Regions from separate parts of the Homo sapiens genome. Here region 2 is linked to region 1. The links are contacts of gene promoters, found by promoter capture Hi-C in human tissues and cell types (Jung and others, 2019). All regions are on one chromosome and are shown on one strand. The core of a region is centred on a gene start or on the middle of the fragment in contact, and the rest is flanking DNA. Distances in the headings are between cores, read along the strand shown. Region 1 holds the start of NTM (neurotrimin). Region 2 overlaps NTM (neurotrimin).

What was found. The method cuts DNA at HindIII sites, captures the fragments that hold promoters and counts their contacts. A contact is called where the count stands out against the background at its distance.
Region 2: a fragment that was not itself captured here is called in contact with the fragment with the promoter of NTM in region 1 in 2 of the 25 tissues and cell types used here (dorsolateral prefrontal cortex and hippocampus).

Annotation. Positions count from the first base shown.
Region 1 is chr11:131,367,559-131,374,318 of GRCh38, reverse strand. It overlaps NTM (neurotrimin), which reads right to left and starts at 3,704. Exons shown (of 9, transcript NM_001352005.2): 1 at 3,431-3,704. The coding sequence starts at 3,512. RefSeq lists an enhancer at 1-241. The HindIII fragment of the contact is 4,341 bases long and covers 3,300-6,760 here.
Region 2 is chr11:131,587,882-131,595,553 of GRCh38, reverse strand. The region is part of intron 1 of NTM (neurotrimin); the gene reads right to left. Among named protein-coding and RNA genes, the nearest start is that of NTM-AS2, 51 kb to the right of the region's middle. The HindIII fragment of the contact is 4,760 bases long and covers 3,561-7,672 here.

The sequences.
Region 1 (6,760 bases), core at 2,455-4,954:
GCTCAGACGGCCATCCCCATTGGTGGGGTGGCCTCCTAATACAAAGGGCGGAGGTGAGCTACATTTGTGCCACTGTGCACGCCTTGCCAGGAACTTGCCTCAAGTTGGCAGCCCCAAGCCTGGCAGGCAGGTTCCATTCGATGAGGCTCCCTGACGCCCTCCCCTTACTGCCATGCTTCCAAGAGCCCACAATGCCTATGTCAGGCCCAGGGTCCCATCATCCCAGGCTGATGTTTCCACTTTGCCAGTAGATATTGCTATGGTCTCGTCTGCCACCCCTGAATATCAGAAGCATTGCCCAGCTCAAGCTGCTGCTGGCACCACGTGTGTACTGTGCATGGCAGGAACCTGGCCGGCCTGCCCAGCCGAACGGCGCCCACCGCCCACCTCCCGGGTGCTGCGCGAAGGGGAGTGTGAACTTTGCCGAGGCACCTTTTCCTTCTCCTCTGCCCTGTCTGTGTCTCAGGCTAGCTGCTAAGCGGATGCGGGATGTGAGGAGAGGTGAGGAAATGAGAAAGGTAAGAGAGGAACCTAGCCAAGCAAATCTGAAGGTGTTAAAAGAAACAATAATCCTTCGAAGGAGAAATGGTCGGTTTTCTAGAAAGAGGAAGCTGCAGCACAAGCAGCCATTCCTTTCAGAGGCTCTCAGTGGCAGAAGGTGGGCGGTGGGTGTTCTGCAAGGGACAGCGCCTGATCCAGTTCTGTAGCGTCTGCTCCCGGCAACGAGATGCCTCCACTTAATCAACCCTGGTGTATCTTAGGGCCAGAGCCCCAGGGAGCTAATCCCCCCTCCTGTCAGCGTCACTAATCAGTGCTGATTCCCTCAGAAACCCCCCTCCCTACCTAAGCTGGATCTTGGTTGCTGGTTGGGTTGTGGGGAGGAGCAGGTCAGGGAGGGGTTCCTAACCTGCCATTAGCACCAGACACCTTTTCAAGAGGCAGGAGGCACAGGAAGCAGCAGCTCTAGGAAGAACCAGCTTAAAACAAAAACAGAGGAGAAGAAAAAATCGCCTTGGAATGTGTGCTGCATTCTAACTAGTCCCACTGGGTCAATGCAATAGGGGTGGATTATTGCAGGCAAGACCTGGGCTGCCTCAGTAATTCTGCAAGTTTGATAAGAGATAGCTGGCAGACTTCAGCTTCCTTCCTCTGAAAGAGAAAACAGACATCACCTTTGCCACATCTGACTGGCATGCAATATGCGGGTCTTTGGGGGTCGTTCTGCGTTAAAATTGGGCAACCTTGTTCTATTACGACCACTGAAGCCTGTTCAGGGCTGACTGGGTGAGGGTAGCACAAATAAGGCCATCATTCTTTTTGAGAAATTCCGGATTCGGTAGAATGTGATAAGGTCTGAGATAGTGCTGTCGCCACCACCCCTACCCCAAGTTAGGAACAAGACCACAAAGTCAGATGGCACCTTAGAGAAATTGGCACCACCACTTTGCTACTCATCTATTCAGAGATGATTCAAAGTATGAGCAAATATTATGCTTCCCTGCATTTATTCTGATGAAAAAAAAAATCACGTATGCTAATTTATATGTAAATTCAGTATGGCCCTGGGGCTCCTGGCATGCAGCCAGCAGGGCTGTTGATGGTGGAAGTTTGGTCATTGTCTCCAGTTTGATGTTACAGGCAGAAGAGACATGGATCTCGGGACAGATAGAAATGACTGAGGGCTTGGGACCTTCCCTCTCCCTACCTCTGACCCCTCACCCTACCCCTTGCCTGCTTAGTTTTCATTTTTGCTGTCAACCCCCACAGAAACTGCTTTTCCGAAACTGCCCGATCCTGAACTCAGCTTCCCCACTTCATTCTTGTGCACCCAGAACAAGCAGGGGTGCACACACACGCACGCACACACACACACACTGATACTGCTTCATATTATATAAGAGGAGTCAATCGAGGATGCCTCCAAGTTGATTCCCTTCACTCAAACACCCACCAAAGCCCCTAGGGGACAGCAGGGAATCCTGAGGCCCATGCCTCCTGGGGTTGGGTGCAGCAGACGACATCATGGACATCCCTGCAAGATTCACCACCTTGGACTTCCTTATCACCCGACACAGATCCCTCCTGTCCCCACCCCTTGCCTTCTTCATCGAGCCCCAGTCAAGGGTGTACACATTTGATCCTTCCAGCCTGGTCTCTCTGCCCACCTTACGTGGATCCACACTGCAGCCACTGCAACCTATGTCAAGAGGACAGCAGCAATCCCTAAATCCTAACCTCGGAGAAGAGCCAGCAGGACTACAGCTCAGGACTCAGTCCAGATCAGGAGAACTCCATATTGCAGGGGGAGAAGAGGGCGAGGGGGTGGGACTCCCCATCGTTTTTCACCGGGTCAGAGGGAACTTTCCTCTGGGAATACAACTGCATAGGACTGAGCCTCACCTCCCAAGAGAGGGCTCCTCCTCCCGGAGCCCTGCTGGGCCACCCTGGGAAAGTTTCTCAGCTTGTCTCGATCCTTACGAGTTTTAGCTGTGTTTAATATAAAAGAGGCAAACTAGTTACCCCAAAGGACAGGGCAGGTGGGAGCAAGAAGATTAGTGGATAATTCTGTTGCTGGAACGAACAGACGTGAGAGCCGGGATGGGGTGTGGGGAGGCACGGTGCAGCAAATGGACTCAAGGTGGAGGCCGATTCCAAATGCACAGAACACAGCACTGGGGACATCAAAGCTTGCACTCAACTGCAGCCCCCAGGGCTCCCGGCTCAGCCGATAAATAAACAGAAAATTAGCATTCGACTCTTATTGCCTCTCTCCCTTCAACTTCGAAAAGCTTTTTAGAATTTCAGAGCCCCGGCTCCCCTCGCTTCCACACCTCCGACCCCAGCCACAAACACACCCCCGAACACATTTAAAACTAATACAGTTGTCCCCCACTGCTGCAAATTGACTCATCCCTTGCAGCTGGATCGCTGACCAGAACCTCACAGGAAGCACCTGATTCTTTCTAGCCTGCATTTTCCCCTTTGCTCCTTTTAAAAGCTTTGCAAGTTCGCTGGCCGATATTTAAAGTTTCCTCTTGTAATTTCTTCCCAGTCGCATAAGCAACACATTAGCAACCCTGTTGCCCTCCGAATCTGTCATTTCCCCCTGCTTACATGTGTGCTCCGTTGTGTATGTGTGCAAGAATGTGCATGAAGCCAGGGAGCCTTGCACACAAGCACAGTCCTAACAGGAGCACCAAACACATTTTACTTATGCACATACATATTCCCCCATTCCGGTAGCAGCCAGAATCAAATCAATATTCTCACAGCCTAGTCGGGAGAATGAAGTCCCAGCCATGCTGTCTAAACGCTCTCTCCTCCACCTGCAAACAGCGCAGCACAGCCGACTCGGGGAGTCTGCAAATCTTATAAAGCACACTGTACAATTCCTGGGTCTACCGAAGGCAAATCAATAGCAAGCTCTTACCTTGGAAGAGACACAGAGCAGCCAGCCCCGTGAAGATTGCCCAAGAGATAGAATTGTGCATTTTTGGCTGGATGGTTTTCATGATTTTTTTTCTTCTTCTTTTTCTTCTTTTTTGTCAGGTTCGGTTTTTTTCTTTCTTTCTTTCCTGATAGATTGTGTTGCTCTCAAGCTTGTGCAAGGAGATTTAAATCCACTGTTTTGCTGAAGGACACAACAAGAAAGCCGAGGGTGTGAGAGAGTATGACTTCTCCGTAATTATCTCCACTCATACTCTGGCACTGAGACACATTGTACAATCTGGCCCTGGACAGCCCTCCTACAAGCTGCAATCATTGGTTCTAATCCAAGGATTGACAGAGCTACAACACACGCGCGCGGGCACACACACACACACACACGCACACACACTCTCAGGAATCATTTACTGGGCAAATCAGGCTAGCTGATTAAAGAGACAGGAGCCTGGAGAGATAGAATGATAAATGCCACTTTGCCCCTTCTATATTACTTTCATTTTTTAAACTGACAGTCTCTGAGTCTTCTGAGTATCAGAAAATCCCTTTCCCCCTGGCATTCCCTGGCCTCCTGAACTCAGATTCCCTTTGCACTGGAAAAATCCCATAGCCAGCCATGGCTTATGGGAAATTTTAAAGGGACATTTTCATGCTCAGTGAAACTTGTAAAGATGAGGCAATTTTCATTTGTTGGTACCTATTTTCCCCTCCAATGGAAATATCATTCAGTGACAGCTTTTTTTTCTCTCTTTCATCAACCTTTCTACTTAGTTGCTTTGAAAATAGTAAATAACTTTCTATTTTCTCCTCCTGTCACTTCTGTTTCAGAACATCTATGTTACTCCTCTTTTTCATTCACTTTTTAGAAGTCAATTTCCTAAATTCATCCATGTGTATATGATACAATGGAAAGGTACAAAGTACCTGGTATTTGAGAAGAAGCTCTATAGTCTGAAGATGGAGAACCTTCTTCAAAAGAAAACAAAGCAGGAGTTTATTCCCCATGACTTGGTCAATCCACATCCACTAAAGCAATCATAGAAGCATCTGTGATTTAAACTGCAGCGAGAAAGATTCAGGGTAGACATGCGGAGGGGCTTTCTGAGTGTAAACTTTGTGTAGTTCCTCAGACAGTTGAAGACATTAACCTCCTTGGTGATAGGAAAGAATAAAAACCGAACAGAAATAATCTAATGGACATAAATGATTTCTTAAGAGGTCTAATTCTAGGGCCTGGAAGTTTATTCTAATCTTTGGCTTCCCCTTATGAGAAGCAAGTTAGAGGATGTGAACAAAAAATCTAGAAAATGTAGCTCCTGGCTGGGCACTGTGGCTCACGCCTGTAATCCCACAACTTTGGGAGGCCAAGGAAGGCCAGTAGCCTGAGCTCAGGAATTCGAGACCAGCCTGGGCAACATGGTGAAACCCTATCTCTACTAAAAAATTCCTTAAAAATATCTGGGTTTGGTGGTGCGCACCCGTGGTTCCAGCCACTTGGGTGGCTGAGGCAGGAGAATTGCTTGAGCCTGGGAGGCGGAGATCACAGTAAGCCAAGATGGCGCCACTACAATCCAGTCTGGGTGACAGAGCCAGCCCCTGTCTCAAGAAAAAAAAAAAAAAAAAAGAAAAGAAAAAGAAAATGTAGTTTCTCACAGAACCTTCCTTAGCTAATTCTGACACATTCATACCCCTACTATGCCTTGACACACATTTTAAAAATATTCTTCTAGAACTCCACCGCTAATTATTATACTTCCTTGTAACCCCATAAAAATGTTCATGTATTTTCAAACTGCATAGAAGAAAAGTACTCATTGTCTGTTTGTATTTTAGTGTACAGAGGTGAAATGAAAACATCACTGCCATTTTGCACATGTCTAAGACGTACGATTTACCTTGGCTTTTTTCTTTTTTCTTTCTTTTTTGTTTTTGTTTTTGACAGACTCTTGCCCCGTCACCCAGGTTGGAGTGCAGTGGTGCAATCACAGCTCACCGCAACTTTGAACTCCTGGGCTCAAGGAACCCTCCTGCCTTACCCACTATGCCCAGCTATTTTTTTTTTTTTTTTAATTTTCTACAACATAGTAGAGATGAAGTCTCACTATGTTGCTCAGGCTGGTTTCAAACTCCTTGCCTCAAGCAGTCCTTCCAGCCTTGGCCTCCCACAAGTTTACCTTGTGTTGTGTATGAATAGGGACAACACTGCCTGGAATGTGGGATCTTGTGACCTTGAGAGGAAGGGGCCCTGGGACCTCAAGATCTGGGGACCTCAAGATCCTTCTCATAGTTCTGCACAACTAAGGGACCTCAGGCAGGTCCTTTCACCTCTGTGAACCTTGGCTTCTTGTCTATAAAATTGTAGAACTGGAATAATTTATTATACTCCTTCTCATTTTAAAGATGTTTTATGTTAACTGGTATTTTTTTTCTTCTTGCCATTAAGTTCTAATTCACATATCTATCAAAATGTCCTTGATATCGTGAGCTCCCAATGGACAAGAATTTTATCTGTAGATGAGTCTTTTTGTGCGGTGCTCAGCATAGTGACATGTGTAATTAAATGCTTTGGAACAACTGTGACGGCAGGTGATAACAGTGCAGTGCAGAAGGAAGGTGGCTTCCTTTCACCACCATTTCATTTCTCTCCAGAACGATGATAAAGATCATGGGCCACTGGTAAGTCTTTAGTCCCAATCAGGAGAGGTGGACAATAACATTTGTAAATGTCCTTACCCTGAACTGTAATAAATCTATACAGTTACCAATGTTTATTAAGCTCCCAGGTGTGTACAGATAATAAGAAATTAATCATCGGAGTTGATATTTATTGATATTTATTTGCAATGTGCTAGACATGATACTCAGTGTTTTGCATGCATTTTTCTCATTAAATAATCACAACCTATGAAGTGGTGATATTATCATCCCCATTTTATAAATGAGGGCATTGAGGCTCAGAAAAAGCTTGTCCACAGCCACACAACAGTTAAGGAATGGAATCAGGATTTAAACCTGAGCATTTTCATCTTAGATCAACTTCAATAATAATATCCTGTGCTAAATACTGTGAGGGACTCAAATAGATATCAAGCATCCTAGCGTAGAATCTTTTTGTTGCTTTCAATAGCATATGAGATTATTAATAAACATTACAAAACAATACATATGTTGATACAAAACTACAGGAAGACTCATATACTGCTTTCAATCTTAACTGAGTTTCCAATGGTTGGTACATATAATTAATTTCATCAGACAGCACACAATAGGTGGTCATTTTCTATGATAGTTTTGTAAAGTTCTTTGGAGACGGTGG
Region 2 (7,672 bases), core at 4,691-7,190, 220 kb before region 1:
AATAAGGGGGAAACACAATTGCTTGGGATGGAGATGTCATTTGCAAAATAATAGTTTCTCAGCTGATGAGAGGCAAACCTCCACCAGGAGTCAGTCCTTCTAAATGACACATCTTTCTTCACTATTTAGCTTGTGAGGACACATAAGCTGAGCACTTGCAGTAATTTCAGGGTCTTTTTTCCCCTCCGTGTGAACTGCTCAGCCCTCTTGAATGTACAGTCTTTATTCCTAATTGGATCTCATCAAAGCTTTCTGTTGCCTTCAGCTGGTGGAGGCGCATGGTGATGTGGAGGGAGGGTAGAGACACCAGCAGGTGATTCACTGGTGGACCACGCCTAGGATTTTGCTGTGGCTGGATGAGCCCTAGACAGAGCAGCAAGCCCCATGCTGAGACTCAGCTACAGCCATCCCACCTCCTTCAAGTCACTGCCTTTCCTCCCCAAATGGCAAAACAGCTATGATGTGGAATTCCCCCTTAATTAAAGACGCAGGTGCATTAGACACTGGGCTAAGCATTCTGCATACATTATATGACTTAAGCCAACAAAATATTATGAAGCAGATGGATCTTTAGACCAGTTTTATAAGTAAGAGAACAGAGCCCAGAGAGATTGAGCAAGTGGCTTAAAGACACATGGCTACTGAGTGGCTGAGTAGGGATGTGAGGAAGAGAGGAGAAATTACTGCAATATTTAGAGTACATGGCGCCCTACTCTCCTGTCCTCCCTGTCAACTTCTCTAGGTCTCAATGCAGGTGAACAAGCCAGAGCTCATTTCCTTCCTTCTACCTCCCTGCAAGATGTTGCAATATTTTCATCAGAAGGAGAATTGTTACCAATATTAAATTAGTAAACTTTCAGGCATGGTGGCTCATGCCTATAAATCCCAGCACTCTGGGAGGCTGAGGTAAGAGGACGGCTTGAGCCCCGTAGTTGGAGAACAGCCTGGGCAATATAGTAAGACCCCATCTCAAGAATTTTTTTTTTTTTAATTTAGCTGGGCGCGGTGGTCTGCACTGTAGTCACAGCTACTTGGGAGGCTGAGGTGGGAGAATCACTTGAGCTTGGGAGGCGGAGGTTGCAGTGAGCTGAAATCTCACCACTGCATTCCAGCCTGGGTGACAGAGCAAGACCCTGTCTTAAAAAAAATTGGTAAACTTTCCTTTTGTTATAAATGTAATATGAGAATGTTACATAAGATTTTGGGGGAAAGGAGCTAAAGAGAACCAACTCCTAATATACTCAACTAATGCAAGCACTCAGTTCTTGGTACAGGACAGTTGTATTGGATTTCAAAAAATCTACAGGACTTAGCATAAATTCTTTCCCAGGTCCTCCCCAGTGCCAAATTATTACAAATGACAAATGAATTAGACCTATTAGTGTGTATTACTTTCCTTGAATCCAATTGTCATGAGATACATACTGAGTTTTCCTGACTTCTAACTTTGTCTAGAACAACCATCCTTATGCATTTAGAGGCAAACAATCATCCATGTTCCTCAGAAACAAGACTATATAAGGCTGGTGCACAGAATTTAGCAATCTCTGGGCAGCAACCTGACCAAATATTGCCTCTGAATGCATTCATCCTAACAAATCCATGTAAAAGATCCACTGGGCACCATGCAGGCACCACAAGGGGGAAATAAAATGAAATACAGGCCTTGCTTTCAGAGTGCTTACAGTCTAGTAGCAGACAGAAGACAGACAAACAGATAATCATAAAGCAACCTGCCAAGTGCAGAAACTGATATGTCCAGAGACACAGACAAACATGATCCTCGTGAGGCCACAGAATGTGGCGCAAAAGAAAATACAACAAAATACAAGAGGTTTTAGAACTAGATTGAGTGAATTTTAAATCTCAGCTTTGCCCACGTACTATCAGCTGAATGACCTTTGACTAGGTACTTGGGTTCAGTTTTCTCATCTATGAAGCAGAGGTGATAACGGCTTTTACAAAGCTCTAATGGGGAATAAATGGGGTAACGTGTCATCCACTTAGAACAGTGCATGCTATGGCAGGGGGGCGGGGCAGGGGAGCCTTTACACTTGGCTTGTTTGAGATCCACAGGCAGAGTTGCCTTGAGCCCATGGACCCTGGTGAGGCTCAGTCCCCTGCCTGACACGATGGGTTGGGAAGTCCCAGCCAGCAGCCTGTCTCCAGAAGATGCTCGTACCCCACCTGCTGAGAGCTAAGCCAGGCAATTGCTCCCTCACTTGTTGAAAGACAACTGTAGCAGGGAAGGCAATTCTCCCTGTAATCTCCAGACATCCTGAAGCAAAATCCAAACTGAAAGAGGAGACCTAGCAATTAGAGGAACTAATGGCACTGGGGAAGGAGAGGTGTAGGGATGGGTGGGGGCTGCAGGAGGGACAGGACTGCTCTTTGCCTATTTCATCTATTGAGTGGAGAGGGAGAGAATGAGAAATAAATAATAGTTTGCTTTTTGCTGCATGTTGGAGCACATTTCCTGCCAATAGTACCACTCACAAGGGCAACTGCTTGACACTTAGGCAAGGGAGTGTGCAGGGAGAACAGGACAAGAGAAAATTACAAATGACAGCATAGCCTGTGTCTGCAATTACAATGCATTGTAAACAAGGAGAACTGCAATTCCAGCTGCCAGACGTGGCCGGAGATTGGCAGGGAAGGGCAGCATCAGAGATGATGGCAGGCTGCTGCACATCTGCTCTGAGCCCAGCATTGTGGGGAGGCAGGGGCCAGGGAGAGGGGACCTGGGGGACTGCAGCTTGGGGAGTGTGGCAGGCCAGGGCTGGCAAGGAGACCAGGTAGAGAGAGGGAGCAAGCAGTGGTGGGGAAGGAGGAGGAAACAGCCCCTAAAGGTCAACTTTGAACTATGGTGTGTGTGTGTGTGTGTGTGTGTGTGTGTGTGTGTGTGTTTGGGGTGTGTGTGTGTATTTGTGTTGGGGAGGTGAATAGGAGAGAGGAAATTTCAGGTCGTGGTTGTTTGGCTTTCATCACTACTGCAGGACAAAAGAAACTAGCTTTTTTTTTTTTTTTTTGAAAGACCTATTATATGCCAAGCTTTGTAAGGCATTTTAAATATGTTATTTGAATGATCTGTACCAGAATCATTCAAGCACTGCCCTGTTTACTAAACAAGTCATTACTGAGCATGTGTGATTTCCAGGCCCTGGGCTAGACTTCGTGGATCTTAGGTTAAAAGGCTATAGCTGCTGCTCAAAGCCATTTTGCAGACGAGGACATTGAGTCTCAGAGAGGTGAAGTTACATGCTCAAAGCTTCTCAGTTAGTAGCAGTGTGAGGACTCCAGTCTAGGCCTGAAGGCCCAGCATGCTCTACCACATTTTTTAGCAGAGCCCAGTAATTCTGCCTCCCATAGTCAGAGCTGTTCCTCTGATCCTTTGACAAATACTAAGTTAAATAGGATTAAGTGGGGTGAGTGCGTAGTGGATGCCCAATAAAAATAGTTTCCTACCCCTCATCACTGACTTAACCATTGACTTAACCTGTTATGAGGAACATCATTATCCAACCAGGGGCAAAAGTGCTCTATTTGTATAAAGGGAGGAAAAGAAGAGGTGACTGATTTCCAGCAGGTGAGGCTGTGGGATGGGCTTCCAACAACTGAGTAGTTCTTACCCAGAGCATAACACAAGAACTGTTTCTCTAATAAAATCAGAAACGAAGGGAGGTTTACCTTGCAGCAGGAGGAATTCAGGTTAGACACAGGGAAGTGCATTTCAGCTGTGAATGAACTGCCCCCTTCCCATTCATGCTGGTGCCTGCTGCTGGGCACATTAGCGCTCTGGGTATTTTCCCAGTGGCTGTGATGAGCAGGGCTGAGCCATCCACACTCTCAAGCTTCCTCCATGTGACTGACAGAACCTATCTACCTGGTGAAAGACACACTGAAGGCAACAGAGTTGGGGTTTTCTTTATCAGTGACCCTTTCGGGGAGCAAATCTCAAGCCTTGGCTCATTTGAGCTGGGAACTACCCAGCTCAGCTCACCAGTAGATAGTCTTGTTAGGCAGGGAATCCATGCATCTCCGTGCAGGGTTGTCAGATGGGACGAATCTCAGCAGGCTGGGTCCTAAACCCAGTGGGGAGCCAGGGTGTGCCCCCCTTCCATCTCCCCCAGCTCAGCTCCATGGACTGTCAGCAGCAGATAGACCAAGCAGGCCCACGGGAGGCTTCGTCCCTCCCCAGCAGGGCCTCTGAGCACAGCACAGCTTGTCTCTGCGGGAAGTCATTTGTTACAGATCTGGGCCCCCCAGGAGGGCCCCCCTTTCCCCAGGGACCTTTCAGTGCTGGCTGAGCCTTCTGGTTCTGCGATGAGTGAGTGACATGGGGAAGATGAGAGCAGCGAGCAGAGAACCCTGCGGTGGGGGCTGGGAGGAGGTGAGGAATTTGAGTCTTAACAGCTGAGCTGGCAAGAAATTTCCCTAAGAAGTTGAAGCTCTGGCTGAATCAGTGCTGCTGACTCTCCCAGAATGGATGCACTGAAACTACGCCCAAGGATTTCATTTGGTTCATCCAGCCTGCTTGCTGCTCCTGTCACCTCAGGTTACCCGGAGCCCTTCTCCTGGGAGTGCAGTCCTGTCTCCAGCCCACCTCACTTCAGGGCCACTGAGCACTGCCCAAATGATGACTGGGTATCCACTCGCATGCTATCCCTTTGGAGTTGTGTGGGGACAGCAAAGTTCAGTAATTAAGAGCATTGGATTTGGGGCCAGACCTGGGTTAAACCTTACATCGGCCATTTATACAGTACAGCTTGGACAAGTCCCATAAGTTCTCTTAGGAAGCCCGTTACCTCACCTACAAGATGGAGAAAAGAGCCTTCACATCAATTGCCATGCAGATGAGTTTTAATAGTATTCTAAAGCCCTTACACAGTGTCTGGCCGTGAGCAAGCATTCAAAGAAGGAATGTTGTTGTTATAATAACTTGTAAATGCTGCCAGTGGCCTGATATTGGGACATTAAGAAGCCATCCAATTGTCCTCTTGTCGTGCAGGGGACACCTGGCTTGGCACTTTGCTTGGACACCAGAGACCAGTCCAGTGCACTTCCTCTGGCCCTATCTCTGGGATCTGCTTTGCACTGTTTTCTGCCCCTGTTCTTAAACTCTGAGGCTGTTACTTTGGGCTTCCAGCATGTCGCTTGGTTCTTCTCCTCTGGTATCAACCTGTTTGCTGTTTTCAGTCTAATGAACACTCAGCTCTTGGGCAAACCCACTCACTTCTGGGTGCTTCAGGTATCTCTGCTCCCACCTGCTCCCCCACCATGGGAATTGAATGATGACACAAGCCCCCAGGGTCATCACTGCTGTCAGACAGTCCTGGTTCTAAAAAACAGAAAGGACACAGATGACTTTTGACTGGGGAGGGGACAGAGGTTCTCCCTGTCTCCATGAGAATGAGCCTCCCAGTAGCAGCAAGGTCGAGGGCTGGGTGCAGGGAAGAGATTGATCAAAATAGACTGAAAGACAAATTACATCCACAGATTATCCTGGGAGTCATTTTTCCAGCCTTGGAGTGAGAACGTTCCAGTTCCTTGGTGAATATCTGCATTTAGGAGGATCCTGGCATGTGGCTGGGGAAGAGCGTATCCCTTGCTGCTTTGTTGGGTTTTAGCGCAGAAGAAATATTCTTTGCTACTTTCTGAAATGTACTACTTATATGGGGATCGAGCCCTCCACTCTGTATTACCTGATATAAGCCTCACACCTCCAGCTAAGGGACACCAGGTGAGGCACAATAAGTGCCCTGGAAACTTTGCTTTCATCTCCTCAGCAGTGAGGCCAGGCAGTGACCTGGTGTCACATGTGTGTGCGCATGTGTGTATGTGTGGATGCAGGAACATTTTTCAACAAAAGTGACGAGGAAGGGGTGGGATGGTGTCTCTCTGCCATGTACACATCACCTTCAAACCTAGGACATGAAAGGCATAAGATACAAAAAAACAAATAATGATTTGGGGTTAAATAAGCCAGAGGGGAGAAAAACACTTTGGTTTCATCATCATGTGTAAGAAAGAAGAGGACAGGGTTGTTTTGCCTCTGCAGAAGCTCCTGTGGGAAGCCCTGGACTGCAGTTTCTGGATGGAGAATGGATGTGTAGTCAGCTTTTAATTACAGCACTAATTGAGGGGGATGGCAGTGTGAAAAATCCAGAATGCTAGTGCTGGGAGGACTTTAGGAGAGTCTCCAATCCCATCACTTTATAATGAAGAATGTGTGTCCCAGGGAAGAGAAAAAAGCCCTGCTTAAATTCATGTGTATTATTAATGGTAAGATATTTACAAGAAACTGGGTCTTCTGACTTCTAGCCTCGTGCCTTCCCACTACAACCAGAGCCTACACACACACACACACACACACACACACACACACATTTTTCCAGGTTAAGAGTGGCATGGTTTCCTGTATAACTGCTGTGTTAATCTCACTTAAATACTAATTTATCATGCCACCTGTCTTCTCACAAACCTTAGTGTCCACCCACAACCTACAGGACGAAGACCAACCTCTCCCCTAGCATGCTCAGGCATGAGTCCTCTGCAGCGTGAGGCTCCACTACTCTCCCATATAAACCCTCCACTTTCACATTGCATGAGCCACACCTGTTAATGCCATTTCTCTTTCTTTCTCTTGTTCAAAACCCAAATCACAGCACATGAGCTCACAGTGAGTTCTCTCAGAATCATCAAGCAGTTAATGTCTTTACCCCATTTAACAATAAGTACACATTGCCCAGAGTTAATATTTACATGTAATGTCTTCATAAGCAGATGGAGACCTTGTCTGACGTAGTTTTCTATACCCAACTAGCCTGATGCCATTCCCCATAGTAGGTTGATTACAAGTGTTAAAAATTTGATGATGTTCAGTAAAATTATAGCAGGACTAAATAATTATTCCAGGCTTTTTCTTTTGATTGTCTGTTTTGGTTCTAGGTAGACTCAAGTTACCAAGATGGCAAATCCCTCTGGCTATCACTGGTTTTTGTGTCCTTGCCCTACCCAGATCCAGCATCTATAAAATATAGCAAAAGGTAAATATCCCCATTCCTTAATTCAAATTTGCTTCATAACCATGGCACACTAGTACTGACTTAAACTACATTGCCAAGAAAATTTACAGTAGTGGTCAAGAGAAAGGATTTTTGTTTCAGGCCATCTTGGAAATAATGTGATGTCACTTTCAAAATTAAGTTATACAAAGCCTGTGGCTTTGCTCTGGGGCAAGCTCTCACTGTCTCTTGGGTTGCTCACTGGGGGTGGCCAGCTGCCATGTTGTGAGGAAGCCCTGTGCAGACGCCTGCTTGGCAAGGGACCAAAACCTGCCAACAGTCATTTGAGTGAGCTTGCAGCAGATCTCTCATTGTGTCTTAACCCTTTTATTTGCTAATTGTGGCTGGGAGTTAACAATAATCTGTGCCTCGGTTTCTTCATCTGTGAAATGGGGACGCTTTTAGTAACCACCTCATATGGTGATGTAAAATTAAAGGAGACAATACATGACAATCATTTAGAACAGTGCCTGGCACATAGCAAGCATTCCACACATGCTTTATTACTAGTTGTCTTTCTGTGACCTTGGCTTACTTGATGCTCAGCTATGGGTCACTCTTCCTCATCAGCCTCATCCTAAAGATGATGATTTGGTTTTTCTCTCTCT